3 separate regions of the Homo sapiens genome follow, and regions 2 and 3 are each linked to region 1. Evidence: promoter capture Hi-C in 16 types of primary human blood cells and fetal thymus (Javierre and others, 2016). All regions are on one chromosome and are shown on one strand. Each heading gives the region's core, a stretch centred on a gene start or on the middle of the fragment in contact. The rest is flanking DNA. Distances are from core to core; before and after follow the strand shown.

Region 1 (3,447 bases), core at 672-3,171:
GTTTTTAAAAACCCTTCTTTAAATTAAAAGAAAGATACATGTTTAGAAACACACACTGTTGGCAAAAATAATTTAACTTCTTAATATGCTCATTAAGGTCAAATACTATCAAAAAAGTGGAAATAAACAGGGAATAACATACAAAACTACACAAAATTCTTAACCCACTCTTTTTTTTCCCTTAAATATCACATCCCAGAGAGACTGGTTTCCAACTTTACATTTTTAGGATTTAGTACTATCCTTTAGAAATAAAACCTAAAACTAATATTAGACATCTCATTTCAAAAGTTAAAGTGTATTTTAGGATGAACATGCCACAGGGTGACTGAAAACATAGTTTCACAAGGAAGTAATGATGATGCACCAGAAAATTAGAATTTGATTGCTTGAAACATCTTTGCTACAACTCTGGACAATACTGTCTTATTCTAACATCTGTGACTTTAGGCATATAAATAGACAGTAAATAAATGAATCTCTCTCATTCTCTTAGCAAGGTGATTTTTTAAAAAATGTGTTTTAACCCTCCCACCAATCGTGAGATATGAACAAACCCTTTCTGAAAGGTGTTCTTTTTTTTCTTTCTTTCTTTCTTTTTTCCGTTGTTTGCTTGTCAGTTATACAATACCTTAAACCCTCCCTAGCAGTATTCAGCATTACGGTTCCATTCACCTCGCATTCTTCATTTCACTTAAAATTTGAAAAGGAAGGTAGAAATTTAAGTTTAAAGGACTCATCTCACCTTTAAAGGACTCATCCTTTAAAGGAGGCAGATGGAGATGTAGTTCCATGGCTAATTGCACTCTGTTATTCTTTTCTTAGTAGATTCACCTTTCAACTCTTTGCCTTCGAGAATGTTTCTCTTTCAATTTCTCTAGCTCTGTGTTTGTCTCTCTCCCTACCTCCCTCTCTAGAAGACAAAAAAAAAAAAAAAAGAAAAGAAAAAAGGAAAAGAAAAAAAAAAGAAAAAAAAGAAAAAAGAAGCCCTGTTTCATTTTGGTACCTGTAACTGCTGGAATTGGATCCATGTACAATAAGCAATCATTCTAACCGAAAAACAGAGAAGAAAGCACAATTGTAAGCCATGAGCTGTATTTTTGGTTCAATCACTTCCACTGCAAAAACCAGTCCATTTATTTTGGCGGATAGAAAGAAAATTTGATCCACCTTAGTGATGCTTCAAGGGTCTGTCTTTGCCTTTATGTTCTTGCACAGTTCCCAAACTTGCCCCACTTCTTCTCTGAAACAGATGTCCTGCTTAACGAGATGCATGTCTCCTACTCACTTCCACCCTTTTGCCCCCGTGAACAGATGAGCCCACAACCCTCTCTCCCCAGCCCTGGAGCTAACTAAATTGTAGACAGAGCAGCAGAGCAGCCCTGTCTTAGCTGATTAGGGTCTGGTTGCTGACTACGTTGCAGTTCCTGAGAAATACGGGGCAATTCACTTTGCAGGGTTCTGTCTCTCATGCAGTTTTGTGCCCCAAGAGTCACTTTTCAAAATCTCTTAACTTCTGTTCCTGGTTATACTGAGAAAGGAAGTTCAGGGGAATCCTTAACGTGGTTAATTATAAAGTCAGTGCTGGAATCCAAGGGACTCTCAGGCAGCAAGGGTGCAGCTCTTAACCCCACAGTCTCCAGCATGTGCGGAGAAGGTACAGGCAATGCAGGAACTTCAGAGGTGGTGGCAGGTGCTAGGTGCTAGGGTGTGGCTGCAGTTGTCTCCCTTTTCTCTTATAGCAGAAGGAGCTGAAAGAGGAGGGGAGGAGGGAGGAAGGAGAGAGAGAGCAAAAGAGAGACAGAGAGAGAGAGCAAAAGAGAGAGAGAGGAGGGGGAGACCCGGGGAGTGAATAACAGGGCGGGCGGAGGGCGGGCGGGCGCCGGGGGAGTGGGGAGCGCGCCTGCCAGGCTCAGACTCACACGCACGCCGCCTCTGTTTGTACACAGTGCGCTCCCGGCGGCCCGCTCGCTCCCCTCCAGCTCACGCTTCATTGTTCTCCAAGTCAGAAGCCCCGCAGCCGCCGCGCGGAGAACAGCGACAGCCGAGCGCCCGGTCCGCCTGTCTGCCGGTGGGTCTGCCTGCCCGCGCAGCAGACCCGGGGCGGCCGCGGGAGCCCGCGCCCCGCCCGCCGCGCCTCTGCCGGGACCCACCCGCAGCGGAGGGCTGAGCCCGCCGGCGGCTCCCCGGAGCTCACCCACCTCCGCGCGCCGGAGCGCAGGCAAAAGGGGAGGAAAGGCTCCTCTCTTTAGTCACCACTCTCGCCCTCTCCAAGAATTTGTTTAACAAAGCGCTGAGGAAAGAGAACGTCTTCTTGAATTCTTTAGTAGGGGCGGAGTCTGCTGCTGCCCTGCGCTGCCACCTCGGCTACACTGCCCTCCGCGACGACCCCTGACCAGCCGGGGTCACGTCCGGGAGACGGGATCATGAAGCGCTCGGTAGCCGTCTGGCTCTTGGTCGGGCTCAGCCTCGGTGTCCCCCAGTTCGGCAAAGGTAAGGCGTCGGGACCCGGACAGCTGGGTGAGGGATGGGCTGGGAGTCCCCTGAGAAACGCCGCGCAGGGGGCCGGAGGCGGTCCCTCCGGCGTGCCAAGGGTGGCGAGCGCCGCTGGCGGCGCGGAGGAGGCGTCGAGTCCTGGGTGCCCCGAGAAAGTGCTTGTAAAGTCTGAGCAGAGTGCGCGGGGCCGAGCGGGGAGAAGGGTGCGGGGTACCGGGGTGAGATACAGGAAAGAGGAGGACGGTGGGGAGCGGTAGAAGACAGCGTCCCCAGGACCAGCGACTCTGTGGCTCACTCGGCCACTGGGTCTCGGCGCAAACCCTCCCTAGGCAGTGCGGGCGATGCTGACTGCAGACGTCGGGCAGGGCTTTCGTGCGGGCGGGAGCGGGGGAAGCCAGTGCGCCCGGGCGTCAGCTAGTTGATGCGGGAAGAGGCTGGGGAGCTGCAGGGCCGTCCGCCCCCGGGTGCGGTGCTCTGGCGCAGGGCCTGGGCTGAGCCGTTCGCAAACCCAGACCCGGCGCTGGGCGTTTTGGCCGCGGGTGAGGTGGAGAGGAGTCTCACAGGTCACTTCAGCTTTCTCCTGCCTCCCCATCCCAGAGGAGCAGCATCGATTACAGCAAACCCCAGGAACCCGCCTCTCCTAGTCTGACCCCAGGGGCCTGGAGCTTAGCTGCGCACCCCCTCCGAGTACCAGTGTTAACTCTTGGTAATGGGGAATAGTGCGGGGCAAGCCACCCCTCGCGTCCCCGCACAGGAGCGGAAAAGTTGTGAGAGCTTGTAGGGTGATGCCTTCTGTGAATTGCACGAAAAAATAAAAACAGAAAAATAAAAATCAAATTAAATTAAAAAGAAAAAAGCATTTAAAAGAAAACGCAGGACTTCGACGAGTGTCCTGCTGGAGTAGTTTAGGCGACTTCCAGGTCCCCTGCGAGGTGCAGCTTGTCCATACAA
Region 2 (3,447 bases), core at 316-2,815, 660 kb before region 1:
GATAGTATAAAACTAAAAGGATGGAGAAAAATGTTAATACAATACATTTAGTATCAGATGAATAGAGCTCTCTATATATGATATATATATATATATATATATATATTTAACTGCAAAACATCCTTTATTTTAACTTTTATTTTAGATTCAGGAGATACATGTGCAAGTTTGTTATCTGGGAGTATTGCATAATGCTGAAGTTTGGGGCACAAATGAGGCTGTCGCCCAAGTTTTTCAAACATTGCCCACCTCCCTCTTCCCATCTCTACTAGTACCCAGTTTCTATTGTTGCCACCTTTATGTCCATGAGTACCTAATGTTTAGCTTCTACTTGTAAGTGAGAACATGTGGTATATGCTTTTCTGTTTCTGTGTTAATTCTTACTTGCCACTCTGTGCCTTTTACATGGGGTGTATAGACCATTTACATTCAAGGTTAATATTAATATGTAAGGTTGTGATTCTCTCATGAAGTTGTTAGTTGGTTACCCTGTAGTTTCTATTGTATGGTTGCTTTATAGAGTCTGTGGGCTATGTAACTGTGGTTTTGTGGTAGCAGGCATTGTATTTTCATCTCCATGTTTAGAACTCCCTTAAGGATCTCCTGTAAGGCTGGCCTAGTGGTAGTGAATTCCCTTAGTGCTTGCTTGTCTGGAAAAGATTTTAATTCTTCTTTTCTTATGAAGCTTAGTTTGTTGTGATATGAAATTATTGGCTGGAGTTTCTTTTCTTTAAGAATGCTGATAAAGAAAATGTCTTTTCTTTGAAAATGCCCAATCTCTCAGCAAAAGTCTTTTGCTGAGAAATTTGCTGTTAGCCTGATACAGTTAATTTCATACATGATCTGACTTTTTTCTCAAGCCACATTTAAGATTTTTAATTTTTCTAACATTGACCTTGGGCAGTTTGATGACTATATACCTTTATGATGTTTGCTTTGTATAAAGTCTTGGAGGTGTTCTCCGGATTTCTTGTATCTGGATGCCTAACTCTACAGCAGGATTAGAGAAATTTTCTTTAATTACTCCCTCAAATATGTTTTCCAGGTTGTTGCATTTTTCCCCTTCTCTGTTAGAGATGACAATTACTCACAGATGTGGTAACTTTTCATAATCCCATATCTATCAAAGAGTTTGTTCAATTTGTAAATTCTTTTTTCTTTATTTTTGTCTGACTGAGTTAGTCTGAAAGACAGTCTTCAATCTCTGAAATTCTTTCTTCTACTTGGTCCATTTTATTGATTAAGCTTTTGATTGCATTTTGAAATTCCTTATGTCATTCTTTCAATTTAGAAGCTCTGATTGATCTTTTAAAAAATTTTTATCTTTTCCATAATTTCCTGGATTGCTTTAGACGTTATTTTTTCATGACTGTCAACCTTGTCCCAGATCTCATTGAGCTTCCTTGAAATCCATGCTTTCAATTCTTTCTCTATAATTTTTTTTGTTTTCATTTTGGTTAGGGATCATTGCTGGAAAGGTAGTGCAATCCTTTGATGGGGTCACTACATTAATATTTTTCATGGAGCCAGAATTCTTCTGCTGGTTCCTTCTCACCTGGAGATACTGGCACTTCTATTTTGTGTGTGTGTAATTATTTTCATGCAGGTAGATTTTTTTCTTGTTTCCTTTCTCTATATTATTATTATTATTATTTTATTTCCCCTTGTGTCCCCCCCACCTCCAGGAGGTGTGACTGTAGAGAATGTTGCATAGAATCTTTTTATTACACTTTGCTTCTATAGCCCTATGAACTTTTGTCAGCAGGTTTTATACTGGGCTGTGAAGTTTAACATATAAACCAGTAGGTGGTGCTTATAGGCAAGAGCTAGATGTAGCCAATGCAGCTGGGTACGTACTTGATCCTTGTTTACTGGGAGAAGCTTTCTGTTGCCTCAGGCAATGGGCTGATTCATAAAGTGCATGGTGGTCTAAGCACCCTGTTCAGCCCTGAGGAGGCAGACCAAATGGGTGGGCCTGATTGAATAGGTCTGTGTACAGGTCTGCACATGGCAGACACAAGCACCACCATGGGAGAATATAGTGGGTGGCCACAAGGCACCAAGAGATCAAGAGATGTGTGTAGCATGGAGCTGGGAAACCACTTTAGCCTCAAATTCCCTGCATGGGGATGAAGGGTGGCCTAAACTCCTAATCCAAGAGGGTGGGGGCTCTAGATGCCTGGAGATTTGCTTGGGTATTAAGCAGACAGAACTCTCCTTCACCAGGATCTCTACACAGGAAGGGTAGGATTGCTCAGGCTTCTGTTCCAGGCAAGCAGGTGCTCTGAGTGCCTGGAGATCTGCCTGGGCATAGAGTGGAGATCTGCCACAAGATGACCACATAGGAAGAGGAGGGCAACTCAGGCTGCTGAACTAGGCAAGCAGATACTCTGAATGCCTGGAGATCTGCCTGGGAGTACAGCAGAGAGCCGCCTCCCCAGCCTCAACCTCACACCAGGATCTCTGAACAGGAAGAGTTGCGTGGCTCAGTCTGCTGGCTGACCTGGTCCTCTGAATGCCTGGGGATATGCCTGGGAGTGGAGTAGAGAAGGCCTTGCTGCACCGTGATCTATGTCCTGGAAAGATAGGTGACTCAAAGTGTAGATCTAGCACAGCAGGTGCTACAATTGTCTGGAGATCTGCCCGAGTGTGAAGCAGAGAGGGCCTCCCTGCACTAAGATCTCTACACAGGAAGGGTGGCATGGGTCATTCCACTGATCCAAGTGAGTGAGTGTTCCAAATGCCTGGAGATCTGCCTACTTGTGGAACAGAGAGAGCCCTGCTGCACAATGATCTATTTCCAGTAAGAGTGGGGTGGTTTTGGCCACCAGTCCAGGAAAGTGGATGTTCCAAATGCTTGGATTTCTGCCTAAGGGGTCCCACTGCACCACAATCTTAGGTGAGCAGGCCAGGTCACCGAGCAATAGCATGTGAAGACAGATTGCTGGTCACCAATCTGACCTTGGTTGCAAGTCTCATTGCTCAGGAGAAACTGCAACTATGGCTCCTCCCTTCTTGCCCCAGGCTTGTGACAGGGGAGAGCATGATTTCTACTGCTAAGGTGCTTTCCACAATTTTTGCTGTGTAGGCTTTTATCCTGCTCCAGATCCGATACTCCAAACTTTGTCATGAGACTAAAATGCCTGTGTGGTCACTAAAGAATGGCTGAATATGGTGTCCTGCTTTCATTCCTGGGTCTTGAAAATATCTACAGCTTTCCTCAGCATCTTTCCTCCACAGCACATCTAAGCCTTTCTCCAAGTTATTTCCAGGGCTTGTGAGAAACAGTGTGATCCCTCAACCTGGGTCCCTTGGATTCCCCATGGAAAGGTGAGTCCCAGAGGGAGGCTTTGTGCTTCTCTTGTATACTAAGCCTCATTCATTTTTATCAGCCAGACACCATCACGGGGGCCATTTGCTGGCATTCTCTTTCCCACAATCTGGGGT
Region 3 (3,447 bases), core at 281-2,780, 630 kb before region 1:
AGCAAGACAATTTCACTTTCAGTAGTGTTCTGGTAAGCAGACTCTCCAAAGAGGGTCATTGGGTGAGTGAGCAGCAGCTCTGATTGGTAATATTTTCCATTTTCCATTATGTGAATACTCCCACTCCGGCAATTTAAAGCTTCCAAAGTGAAGTCACAAAATGAGTAGTTGGGATAGAATGTGGATAACAGCTTCTCCCAAGCCAGTTCTAGCTGACTTCAGCAAACCACCATTTTCTTCCCATCCACTTACATCCTTTGCATGCTGCCTGAGATTTCCATTGTTGGAATCAACAATGGAAAGTAATGCTTTCGTATTTTGGTATGAAGTAATGCTTTCTGAAATTTCTAATTAAATCAAATTATTATTTCGATAAAGGTGCATCATCTGTCTACTATGTTAGCTGTTAATATAATATTCCTGTCCCTAAAGTCCTCTGTCCCTAAAAAATACAAATAAATAGATTTTTATTTCTTTCTTACGGAAAAAGAAGAAAGAAAGCATGTACTCACAAAATATACTAGGAGGATAGCTAAATCTTCCCATAAGAAGTTTTATATAATTTACAAAGATTAAAAATGCACAGATATGTGTACAGTTTGAAATGTTTTGACAAATAAATATATGTGTACACGGATGTTATCTACAACCTTATGAAGAGATAGAAAATTTTTATCTTTCCAGAAAGTTCTTCCGGCTCCTTCCCAGTCAAACCTGGTCACCCTCAAGTAGAGGCCACTAACACAGGTGACTAGTTTTCATGTTATTCGAGAAATTCATTCACATAAATGTATTCATAGAATCATAAATACATGCACTTGAATCTGGTTTCTTGTAAAATATTTTTTTGAAGTTTAAACATGTTTTTGGGTACATTTGTTGTTTATTCCTTTTTACTGACATTGCATAATACTTATTTTTCTAAATTTCTTTCTTTTCAAAAGATAATTGATATGTTTCAAGCTTTGCCTATTATGAATATTAAGCTTCATATGAACATCCACATAATCTATTTGTTGATGTATGTTGTATTATCCTGAGTTAATTGAAATGGAATTCCTGGGTCATAGGGTAGGTTTATGTATAACTTTATTAAAAAATTCAAAGCCAGTTATCAAAGATTTTATACTATTTTACACTCCCATTGGTTGTACCGTATAGATGCTAACATCTGGTGATGTTAGTCTTTTTAGAACTATCCATTCTGGCAAGCCTGTAATATTTCATTGTAGTTTTAATTGGCATGACCCCGATGACTATTGACATGGATCATTTTTCAGATGCTTATTTAACATTTGTTCATTTCTATATCATATTTTGTAAAGTACTTCTTAAACTTTTTTAAGTATTTTTGTTGTTTTTATTTGTCTTATTAAGTTGTAGGGGTTCTACATATATTATGTAGATAGGTTTTTCATTACATAAATATATTATATTATTTCTATAATTTACCTATTCACTTCTAAACTGTACTTTTGATGAGATAAATTTTTACTATTTTTGTTGAAATACAATTTAGAATTTTTTTTAAGTTTGCCTTCTGTGGTCTTTTTAAGAAATATTCACAACTATGTTATGAAGATACAGTCATAATGTTGTATTCTATAAACTTTATAACTTTAGTTTAATATTTAGGTATATGATTCATCTCAAATTAATTTTTACAGTATATTTCAAGGTAGCAACAAATTTACTTTTTCCACATGGATATGAAGCTGTTCTACCAGTGTTTACTGAAAAAATGTTCTTGAACCGTTAAATTTCTTCCATGTATCTGTTAAAAATTGAATGACAGTATGAGTCTATTTCTTATATCTTTCAGGGAACCATTTATCTGTGCTTATGCTATTACAAGACTGTCTTGATTCCCATAGCTTTAGAGTAAGTCCCGAAATCAGATAGCATAATTTTCCCAATATCATTCTTTCTCAAGATTGTTTTATAAGGTAAAGACTTCACCTGATCTATTTCTTGTGTCAATCTGGTAATAATGTCTTTCAAGGAAATTTTCCATTTTATCCAAGATGTCAAATCTTTGACATAAATCTCTGATATAATCCTTTGTTAAGCTTGTAACAATCTGAAGTGACGTCCTTTTCTGAAGTGACGTCCTTTTCTCTTTCATTGCCTGTACTGGTAATTTTTCCCTCTTTTTGTCTAATTCATATTAATGGCTTATAAAATTGCTTACATCTTTTTAAATAACATTTTTTCTTTTATATCTTCTATTTGTTCATTTGCTATTTTCTTGATGGCCACACTTACTATTTTATTATTTATATCCTCTAAGTACTTTGTTTTAGCTGTGTGCTAAAACACAGTAATTTTTTTGCTGTTTTGCATTAAAGATTTTGCCAAATTTTATTGGCTTTTTAGGGTGGAACATGCATGATTGATTTCAAACCATTCTTATAATCTAATACAAAAATTTTCTCCAGCCACTACTTTTGTGTAACTTACAAAGTTTGACATGTTGTGTTTAAACTTCATTCAATTCAAAATTTTGTACTTTCCTTTTTAGTTTCTTAACACATGAGTTCTTTAGTGGCAGGTTACTTAAAGTTCAAATATTTGGGGAATGTAAAGATGAATTTTTGCTATTGACATCAAACAATATAATTAGAATTAAAATACATATGTTTGAAAATCAGAATATATTGCAATATATGGAAACTTCTTAAATGGCTCAACAAATGATCTGCCAGTGGATTTTCTATATGTAGTTATAAAGAATAACTATTCTGTTGTTTTATGATGTTTTGATCTATGTCAGTAAGGTTAGGTAGGTTTATTTTGTTCAATGTTTTTAAACTGCAGTGATTTTTCATCTATTTCTTTTAGAAATCACTGGAAGAGTGTTATTGAAATCTCCAAATTAATTTCTGTCTGCTTACTTCTGTATTTTGAATACCTGTCTTTACTTTCATATACATTTAAGATTATTATATCTTTCTGATAAAAAGTGCTTTTATCCTTATGGAATGTATGTTTTTATCTCTGGTAATATTATTTTTCTTAAAGTGTATTTTGTCTAGTATTAGTAAAGGCAAATAAGCTTTTTTTATATTTAGTGTTTACAGGTTGTATCACTTACTTGTTTTTTAATTTTACCAATTACATATTTATGCATTTGTATTTTCTAAATCTCTATCCTGTCTGATTTTAATATAGTCAAATCTTCATACGTGCTTTAACTTATATTTATTTTTTTAACATTTATGCATATTTAAAATATGAAATAGATATTTATACATTAAAATACAAAATAAATTGCATAAATTCGATTTTGTCAAATTTTATGTATATTTCTTCAAACATTTTTTCCTATACAATTTTTCTCTTGTAAGTCTGAGTTTTAAATACACATGTTAGACTACTTAATATTGTCCCACTGGTCATTGACAATCTATTCTCTTTTTTCATCCTTCTTCACAGTGCATAATTTTA

The links. The method cuts DNA at HindIII sites, captures the fragments that hold promoters and counts their contacts. A CHiCAGO score of 5 or more calls a contact.
Region 2: a contact is called between a fragment that was not itself captured here and the fragment with the promoter of EDIL3 in region 1, in 1 of 17 cell types (megakaryocytes). The highest score is 5.8, in megakaryocytes.
Region 3: a contact is called between a fragment that was not itself captured here and the fragment with the promoter of EDIL3 in region 1, in 2 of 17 cell types (monocytes and M2 macrophages). The highest score is 6.5, in monocytes.

The regions. Positions count from the first base shown.
Region 1 is chr5:84,383,354-84,386,800 of GRCh38, reverse strand. EDIL3 (EGF like repeats and discoidin domains 3) reads left to right here and starts at 1,921. Exons shown (of 11, transcript NM_005711.5): 1 at 1,921-2,493. The coding sequence starts at 2,427. The region is part of intron 1 of EDIL3-DT (EDIL3 divergent transcript); the gene reads right to left. The HindIII fragment of the contact is 6,424 bases long and covers 1-3,447 here.
Region 2 is chr5:85,047,697-85,051,143 of GRCh38, reverse strand. No RefSeq gene overlaps it. Among named protein-coding and RNA genes, the nearest start is that of EDIL3, 660 kb to the right of the region's middle. The HindIII fragment of the contact is 636 bases long and covers 1,248-1,883 here.
Region 3 is chr5:85,008,810-85,012,256 of GRCh38, reverse strand. No RefSeq gene overlaps it. Among named protein-coding and RNA genes, the nearest start is that of EDIL3, 630 kb to the right of the region's middle. The HindIII fragment of the contact is 1,083 bases long and covers 989-2,071 here.